3 separate regions of the Homo sapiens genome follow, and regions 2 and 3 are each linked to region 1. Evidence: promoter capture Hi-C in 16 types of primary human blood cells and fetal thymus (Javierre and others, 2016). All regions are on one chromosome and are shown on one strand. Each heading gives the region's core, a stretch centred on a gene start or on the middle of the fragment in contact. The rest is flanking DNA. Distances are from core to core; before and after follow the strand shown. Region 1 holds the start of VEGFA (vascular endothelial growth factor A). Region 2 has its middle 24 kb from the start of MRPL14. Region 3 overlaps SCIRT (stem cell inhibitory RNA transcript).

The links. Contacts are between HindIII fragments. The CHiCAGO score rates a contact against its expected background, and 5 or more counts as called.
Region 2: a fragment that was not itself captured here is called in contact with the fragment with the promoter of VEGFA in region 1 in 3 of 17 cell types (fetal thymus, endothelial precursors and erythroblasts); the score reaches 6.1 in fetal thymus.
Region 3: a fragment that was not itself captured here is called in contact with the fragment with the promoter of VEGFA in region 1 in 10 of 17 cell types (erythroblasts, endothelial precursors, total CD8 T cells and 7 more); the score reaches 10.6 in erythroblasts.

What each region holds. Positions count from the first base shown.
Region 1 is chr6:43,768,750-43,771,670 of GRCh38, forward strand. It overlaps VEGFA (vascular endothelial growth factor A), which reads left to right and starts at 1,462. Exons shown (of 8, transcript NM_003376.6): 1 at 1,462-2,563. The coding sequence starts at 1,958. RefSeq lists silencers at 1,275-1,524, 1,902-2,841, 2,912-2,921 and enhancers at 1,887-2,652, 2,653-2,921. The HindIII fragment of the contact is 11,673 bases long and covers 1-2,921 here.
Region 2 is chr6:44,102,406-44,105,326 of GRCh38, forward strand. No RefSeq gene overlaps it. Among named protein-coding and RNA genes, the nearest start is that of MRPL14, 24 kb to the right of the region's middle. RefSeq lists enhancers at 1-338, 339-887, 1,990-2,159. The HindIII fragment of the contact is 3,964 bases long and covers 1-2,921 here.
Region 3 is chr6:44,029,576-44,032,496 of GRCh38, forward strand. All of the region lies in intron 1 of SCIRT (stem cell inhibitory RNA transcript), which reads right to left. Among named protein-coding and RNA genes, the nearest start is that of LINC03040, 30 kb to the left of the region's middle. The HindIII fragment of the contact is 6,000 bases long and covers 1-2,921 here.

The DNA of each region.
Region 1 (2,921 bases), core at 212-2,711:
GAAACCAGCTAGGAATTTTTCCAAGCTGCTTCCTATATGCAAGAATGGGATGGGGCCTTTGGGAGCACTTAGGGAAGATGTGGAGAGTTGGAGGAAAAGGGGGCTTGGAGGTAAGGGAGGGGACTGGGGGAAGGATAGGGGAGAAGCTGTGAGCCTGGAGAAGTAGCCAAGGGATCCTGAGGGAATGGGGGAGCTGAGACGAAACCCCCATTTCTATTCAGAAGATGAGCTATGAGTCTGGGCTTGGGCTGATAGAAGCCTTGGCCCCTGGCCTGGTGGGAGCTCTGGGCAGCTGGCCTACAGACGTTCCTTAGTGCTGGCGGGTAGGTTTGAATCATCACGCAGGCCCTGGCCTCCACCCGCCCCCACCAGCCCCCTGGCCTCAGTTCCCTGGCAACATCTGGGGTTGGGGGGGCAGCAGGAACAAGGGCCTCTGTCTGCCCAGCTGCCTCCCCCTTTGGGTTTTGCCAGACTCCACAGTGCATACGTGGGCTCCAACAGGTCCTCTTCCCTCCCAGTCACTGACTAACCCCGGAACCACACAGCTTCCCGTTCTCAGCTCCACAAACTTGGTGCCAAATTCTTCTCCCCTGGGAAGCATCCCTGGACACTTCCCAAAGGACCCCAGTCACTCCAGCCTGTTGGCTGCCGCTCACTTTGATGTCTGCAGGCCAGATGAGGGCTCCAGATGGCACATTGTCAGAGGGACACACTGTGGCCCCTGTGCCCAGCCCTGGGCTCTCTGTACATGAAGCAACTCCAGTCCCAAATATGTAGCTGTTTGGGAGGTCAGAAATAGGGGGTCCAGGAGCAAACTCCCCCCACCCCCTTTCCAAAGCCCATTCCCTCTTTAGCCAGAGCCGGGGTGTGCAGACGGCAGTCACTAGGGGGCGCTCGGCCACCACAGGGAAGCTGGGTGAATGGAGCGAGCAGCGTCTTCGAGAGTGAGGACGTGTGTGTCTGTGTGGGTGAGTGAGTGTGTGCGTGTGGGGTTGAGGGCGTTGGAGCGGGGAGAAGGCCAGGGGTCACTCCAGGATTCCAATAGATCTGTGTGTCCCTCTCCCCACCCGTCCCTGTCCGGCTCTCCGCCTTCCCCTGCCCCCTTCAATATTCCTAGCAAAGAGGGAACGGCTCTCAGGCCCTGTCCGCACGTAACCTCACTTTCCTGCTCCCTCCTCGCCAATGCCCCGCGGGCGCGTGTCTCTGGACAGAGTTTCCGGGGGCGGATGGGTAATTTTCAGGCTGTGAACCTTGGTGGGGGTCGAGCTTCCCCTTCATTGCGGCGGGCTGCGGGCCAGGCTTCACTGAGCGTCCGCAGAGCCCGGGCCCGAGCCGCGTGTGGAAGGGCTGAGGCTCGCCTGTCCCCGCCCCCCGGGGCGGGCCGGGGGCGGGGTCCCGGCGGGGCGGAGCCATGCGCCCCCCCCTTTTTTTTTTAAAAGTCGGCTGGTAGCGGGGAGGATCGCGGAGGCTTGGGGCAGCCGGGTAGCTCGGAGGTCGTGGCGCTGGGGGCTAGCACCAGCGCTCTGTCGGGAGGCGCAGCGGTTAGGTGGACCGGTCAGCGGACTCACCGGCCAGGGCGCTCGGTGCTGGAATTTGATATTCATTGATCCGGGTTTTATCCCTCTTCTTTTTTCTTAAACATTTTTTTTTAAAACTGTATTGTTTCTCGTTTTAATTTATTTTTGCTTGCCATTCCCCACTTGAATCGGGCCGACGGCTTGGGGAGATTGCTCTACTTCCCCAAATCACTGTGGATTTTGGAAACCAGCAGAAAGAGGAAAGAGGTAGCAAGAGCTCCAGAGAGAAGTCGAGGAAGAGAGAGACGGGGTCAGAGAGAGCGCGCGGGCGTGCGAGCAGCGAAAGCGACAGGGGCAAAGTGAGTGACCTGCTTTTGGGGGTGACCGCCGGAGCGCGGCGTGAGCCCTCCCCCTTGGGATCCCGCAGCTGACCAGTCGCGCTGACGGACAGACAGACAGACACCGCCCCCAGCCCCAGCTACCACCTCCTCCCCGGCCGGCGGCGGACAGTGGACGCGGCGGCGAGCCGCGGGCAGGGGCCGGAGCCCGCGCCCGGAGGCGGGGTGGAGGGGGTCGGGGCTCGCGGCGTCGCACTGAAACTTTTCGTCCAACTTCTGGGCTGTTCTCGCTTCGGAGGAGCCGTGGTCCGCGCGGGGGAAGCCGAGCCGAGCGGAGCCGCGAGAAGTGCTAGCTCGGGCCGGGAGGAGCCGCAGCCGGAGGAGGGGGAGGAGGAAGAAGAGAAGGAAGAGGAGAGGGGGCCGCAGTGGCGACTCGGCGCTCGGAAGCCGGGCTCATGGACGGGTGAGGCGGCGGTGTGCGCAGACAGTGCTCCAGCCGCGCGCGCTCCCCAGGCCCTGGCCCGGGCCTCGGGCCGGGGAGGAAGAGTAGCTCGCCGAGGCGCCGAGGAGAGCGGGCCGCCCCACAGCCCGAGCCGGAGAGGGAGCGCGAGCCGCGCCGGCCCCGGTCGGGCCTCCGAAACCATGAACTTTCTGCTGTCTTGGGTGCATTGGAGCCTTGCCTTGCTGCTCTACCTCCACCATGCCAAGGTAAGCGGTCGTGCCCTGCTGGCGCCGCGGGCCGCTGCGAGCGCCTCTCCCGGCTGGGGACGTGCGTGCGAGCGCGCGCGTGGGGGCTCCGTGCCCCACGCGGGTCCATGGGCACCAGGCGTGCGGCGTCCCCCTCTGTCGTCTTAGGTGCAGGGGGAGGGGGCGCGCGCGCTAGGTGGGAGGGTACCCGGAGAGAGGCTCACCGCCCACGCGGGCCCTGCCCACCCACCGGAGTCACCGCACGTACGATCTGGGCCGACCAGCCGAGGGCGGGAGCCGGAGGAGGAGGCCGAGGGGGCTGGGCTTGCGTTGCCGCTGCCGGCTGAAGTTTGCTCCCGGCCGCTGGTCCCGGACGAAC
Region 2 (2,921 bases), core at 262-2,761, 330 kb after region 1:
CTCTCCCCTCCTAAGATCCTGAACTCCATAAAGAGCCCCATCCATTCCACCAAGTCAGAGCCCTAGAAGGTACCCTCACCTCCATCCACCTCCAAACTTTCACCAGATCCTGCCTATTCCACCTCAGGGGAAGTTTATCAATTGAGTAGCCCAACAGGTTTAAGACTGCAGGTGCAGGGAGGCATGGATGCGCTTTATTTCTTGGACATGGCTCAGAGGAGGGGCAGCTCCAGAGCACAAGGGCAGGGCGAGAGGCAGCACAGGCCAGCAGGAGAGAAAGCCCTGTAGCCCAGATCACACACAGTCTCACCAGACCCCCAGCTGTGCATTGGCTGCTGCAGGCATCTCCCCTCCCTGCCTCAGCCCAGGCCTCCACCAGTCAGCAGCTGAGCTGGCCCAGCTCCCCTCCACAGGAACAGCCTGCAGCTTGCCCTGTGCTCACCCCCAACCCCCTACCCCATTCTCCTTCACTATGAAGTTCCTCTGAATACAAAGCCCACCTCTCAATAACCTATCCCAAGATAATTTGATAGTGCTAACTTGAATTTCTGAACTCCCTGCCCTGTTTCCCAGCATGGTCCTTTCTCTATGCCAAGCTACTTCTACCTACTAAATAGCTATTTTCCCTCAAATCTTTCTTAACTCCTGTCCTCCATCCCTGCCTTGCCTTACCAGAGTATTATGTTGTTTTGTTTTGTTTTCCTTTTTTTTTTTTTTTTTTTGAGACGAAGTCTTGCTCTGTCACCCAGGCTGGAGTGCAGTGGCACGATCTCAGCTCACTCAACCTCCGCCTCCCGGGTTTAAGCGATTCTCCTGTGTCAGCCTCCCGAGTAGCCGGGATTACAGGTGCATGCCACCACGCCCAGCTAATTTTCGTATTTTTGGTAGAGATAGTTTCGCCACGCTGGCCAGACTGGTCTCAAACTCCTGACCTCAGATGATCTACCCGCCTCGGCCTCCCAAAGTGCAGGAATTACAGGCGTGAGCCACCGCGCCTGGCCATCTCTTGAATTTACTGAATTCCCTGCTCCCTTCCTGGTCCTTCATACCAACCCTTTTAGAGGGGTTCTTTGCACAGCAGCTGAGTGATCTTAATAAATGTCCATCTGGGATGGGGAGCCACTGGCCAGTTAAAGCAGGGCAGTGACAGGGTTAAAGTCCCAGCACCTAGTGCAACCTATGTAGCCTTCCCTGGCCTGGCCCGTCAGCTACCTCAGCCCCACTGCAACCCTCTAGGTACCTCAAACAGCTGGCAGGTCCCGGCACATCCCACCCGGCATCACACCTCTGGTTTTGGCTGGGATGAAAGGGTATTCCCACTTCAGCCTGTCACTTGACTAACTCTGACTGTCCAGCTTCCAGGCTCTGGGCATCTCCTCAGGAAGCCTTTCTGACCCTCCTGGGTCAGTGTTGCCACAGCACATGGGCTCCTGTCACCTGCTGCAGGAGGCAGAAACTGCTCATGGATCTGTCTCCCTTCTGAGAGCTTCTCCAGGGCAAGATCCATATTTTGCCCATCTGGGCACACACAGTAAATGTTTGCATCAGTCAGCGTCCAAGCAGGCAACAAGGGGCCACTTGAATTGGGATAATGTGAGGAGAATTTAACAAAGGGACTGTTTACAAAGGTGTGGACCAGTACAGTGGGTGCTGTAGTGCCCTGACGCCAAGGCCCCAAGAGTGTAGAGCACTGCCTGAGGGGCTGTGACATATGACTGAAGAGTGTGGTCAGCCCTGCAGGAATGGGAGCCCGCTGATGCAGTCCATACAGGTCAGCCTCCTGGGGCACAGGGCAGGGTGGAAAAGGGTGAGAGGGACCCCGAGGGACAGATTAAGATGTCCAACCCAGGGCTCAACCAATGTCAATTGAACAGAACTTCACTGATGAGACACCCTGAGCAGGGTTCCACAGACCGACCACTTCTCCAAGGAGAAAACAACATTCCAGGCCAAAGATGTGCCAAGGCTCACCTGTGGGGTCAGCATGGCTTATGCCGGTGTAAAGGCAGCAACAGTACCGACAGGGTTGGAGAAGCAATGAGCAAAGTCGAGGTCTCCAAGTGGGACAAACCCCCGCCTCCAGGTTGAGAGCACCAAGTGAGCAGAGTTCCTCCGCCAGGCTGCAAGGGACTTCCTTAGCTTGGGTTTTCCAGATGAGGAACTGGGTCTGGAGGTGAGTGGTGGCCCTTTGTGGGGATGGGGAAGAACCCACACTCTTTCTTCACTTGATAACTCACTCAGCAAACATTAGGAACCCACTTGAAAATGGGTGTTAACAGCTCCAGGGTGAGCCAAGACCCAGGAAGCCCCCAGTTGGCTAAGTGCAGAGAATGAAGACTGGCCCATTTCCTTGGCAGAGTAGATGACCAAGCTGTGGAGTGACAGGAAACAGTGGTGTTAAATAAGGCCAGGAGCCAACCTCCAGCAGGAAGCACTGACCTCAGCTTGGGCCGGAAGGTGCTGACCTAAGAGGCAACTGGAAGTAACTACAAGTATCCACAATGGTCATCCAACAGATGCTTCCGGAAAACTATTTTAATAGCTGAGGGAAGGCACATTACCAAGAAATATTTCCACCACAGGTCAGTGCAGCAGAAAAAGCAGAAGAAATGTGGTCAGGTGGTCCTGACTTCAAATCTCAGCCTGCCACTTGACTACAAGTCCCTTAACTCTTCTCAGCCTGGGTTTTCTCACACATAAATCAGATACAATAATCACACGGCATCATTGTGAAGACTTGGAAGAGAATATGCAAAGTGTCCAGCACAAAACTGGCATAAAGCAAGCCCTCAATAAATTGGTTTCTCTTGTCTGTTCCTACTACCATATGCCACAGACCAAGGCTGAAAGAGATGTGGTTTCTACCTCGGTGGGCAGCCAGATTGTCGCAAGAAGTTGGCAGCATGCCAAGACCAGGTCAG
Region 3 (2,921 bases), core at 225-2,724, 260 kb after region 1:
TGGAAATTGCATTGTTTTTCCAAAAATCAGTCATCTTGCCCTCTTGGCTCAGCCTCATACAGCACATCTGGGATGCGTTTACTAGAAACTTCCCCCGGAGGCCTGAGCCTGGTGCAGAAATTGAGAAGACTGGAAATGAGTAAGACTCATGCCAGGGCACTTAACAGGATCCACCAGTGGCACCTACTTTTCCACAGGAAGCCACACAAGTCAAGAATCCACCATGATTTTGCAAGATGGCTCCAGGGAAAGCCCTCCTGGGTTGTGCCTCAAATGCCCAAAGGGCTCCTCATTCTGCCATGCACCCCACCTCATTCTGAAGGCCTAGCCCTCATTGTGTGTGCACATCCAACCTCCAGGGCCCATCTTGCCTCTTTCTATCCAAGTCCCTGCCTTTAGTGCCTGCCCAGGGTCCTGGATCCCCCAAGGCTGGGACCCGCCTTGCTCTTGCCTTTCTTGTCAGAAGCTGTACTTCTGTCCTTAGCCCCAGTCTGATGGCAGGAGACCCTTCCTGCTGACCAGTCTTCCCACTATATTCCCAGTCTCCCATGGCTGGGAAATAGGGTTGGCTTCAGTTGTCCCTACTGGGATGCACCAAAAGTAGCAGGAAAAGATTCAAGAACCCTTTAATGCTCACAGCTTCGTCAGCATCCAGACGTCGTTCAGTCCCCTGCCTCCAGAGCAGGGTGTCCACCACTCACTCTTGCTGGCCTCCTGTCAATGGCTGACCATGCTCTTCTCACTTTGCCTAAAACTCAGTTTACCCCCACACCTGTCTATATGCTCTATTTTCTCTCCTGATGAAAGAGCGGAGAATGTGTCTATACTCACTCAGGTATACAACACAGTTACAAAACCACCTTCCTTCCTCTTAAATGACTGCATTAATTAAAGGTTTGTAGGCCTGGAAGATGCTAAGGTTCTAGGTCAAGGAATTTCCTCTTCTGTGCTCCTAGAGCTGACAGTTGTAAGGAAAGGAAGGGCAGCTCAGGGAGGACATCTAAAGGGCTCTCTTGTCTCCTGGTTACCTGGCCTCAGCACATCGCCCACACCCTCTGCCACTTCAATCCCTGCCCAGAGGGGACAGAGGGGACACTGGAAAATCCCCTCCCTCCCTCCCTCTAACCCTCTCCTCTCTCCAACAAGCCCTGGGCACAGCAATGTTCACCCAAGAGTGATGCTGAAGTCAGCCAGGTTCCTAAGAAAGGGTCATGGCCAGAGGACTTCGAAACTGCTTCAAGAAATGGAGGGAGGGTGCGGTGACTTCATATGTTTAGGACCAAAGAACAGTCCTAGGGATGCTGGAGGAGATAGGGGGGAGGACGTGGTCACTGCTTTCAGAAGCTGCTGCATGAAGGCTGCATGCTGCAAATGTTAAGAAATAGCCATGCCAGGCTGACATCTTCCTGACCTCCTGCCACCTTCAGGGCTCTCCTTTAGCCTCCCTGTCCTAGTGTAAGAGTAGCCACCTGTGCCTGCATTGAGTCCACTAGCCTGGGAGAGGCCCAAAGTTCTGGATCATGCCTCCCTCAAAAGACTGGGGCTCAAGATAGTCCTGAGGGTGACAGAGGTGCAGGGCTTCCTCAGGGGGCAAGCAGAAGAGTCCTGGTTTTCTTCCAAGGACCCCTGCCCCCTGCTGTTCAGTCCTCTCCAGCCCCCAGGGCTTCTCAACCCCCTGCTCGTCTCCACATACTCTGTCAGCCTTAAGGAGGCTCTTGTGGATCCTCATTCCTTCGGGACAGGAGGCCAACAGCTATGTCCTGAGCCTCAGCTCTTCCCTGGCCATGCCCCCGCCTCACACCTCCAGCCCTGATTTTGTGCCTCTGCTTCCAAGGGAGGAAGATGAACGACGGAGGAAGTTCTGAGCTAAGGAAGGGAGTATTGATGAAAGTTGTGTTGACAAAAGAATGTGTCAAGACTAAGTATGATTCTTTCCAGAAGTACAAGAAAGCCAAATTCTGGGAAACTCAACATAACCTACTATATTAGCATGTAAAATAGATTAATTTTCCCAACATGTTTAATGGGGAGACTCTAAAAGCAGTCCCGTTAAAGTTGACGTCAGCTCTCCCCATAAACTATCACCATTAGTATTTAATATTGTTCTGCAATTACTTGACAATGCAGTTAGATGAAAAATAAAATAAGAGGTATAAATATTGTAAAAAGAAAGCAGTTATTATCATTGGATGATATTACTCTATACTTGGATATTCCAAGAGAATCAGCTAAAGAACTTTTAGTAATATCAGGAATTTATCAAAGTGGCTAGTTTAAAAACAAGATTTCCTAAATACAAGAAATAACTAATAAAAGAATATGGAAAAACATCCCATTAATAAGGTTAACAAAAACCTAACATAAAACACATAGAAAAAATGTGCAGATACATGGAAATAGCTGTAAAAGCTAAATGAGGGACATACACATAGACTTGAATCGATGGAGAAAGACCTTTTCCTTGGATAAAAAGTCAGTAATATTGTAAGCATGTCAGTGTCACCATAATTAAACTATAAATTCAGCATACTTCTGTACAAAATATCAGCTGCTTTTGGGGGATAATTTGACAAAATGATTACATACAAATTCCTCTGGAAAAATAAATATAAATGAATAGAACATTCCTGGAAGGAAAAATAAGTAAACTAACAAGGAAAGAGTAGCACTATAAAACATTTTTCAAAAATAGTATACAGCTACAATAATTAAAATAGTGTGGGACTGGTGCCTGCATACAGATCAATTGGAAAGAATAAAACAATTTTAAATAGGCCCAAATAAACATGAGAATTCAATTCAATAAATTGAGATACTAGTCAGATATTTGGATCAAAAATAAATAAATCTGGATTCGCTACATCACTCCTAATATGGACATAAATTCCAACAGGATCAAAGATTTAAAGAAAGGAAAACAT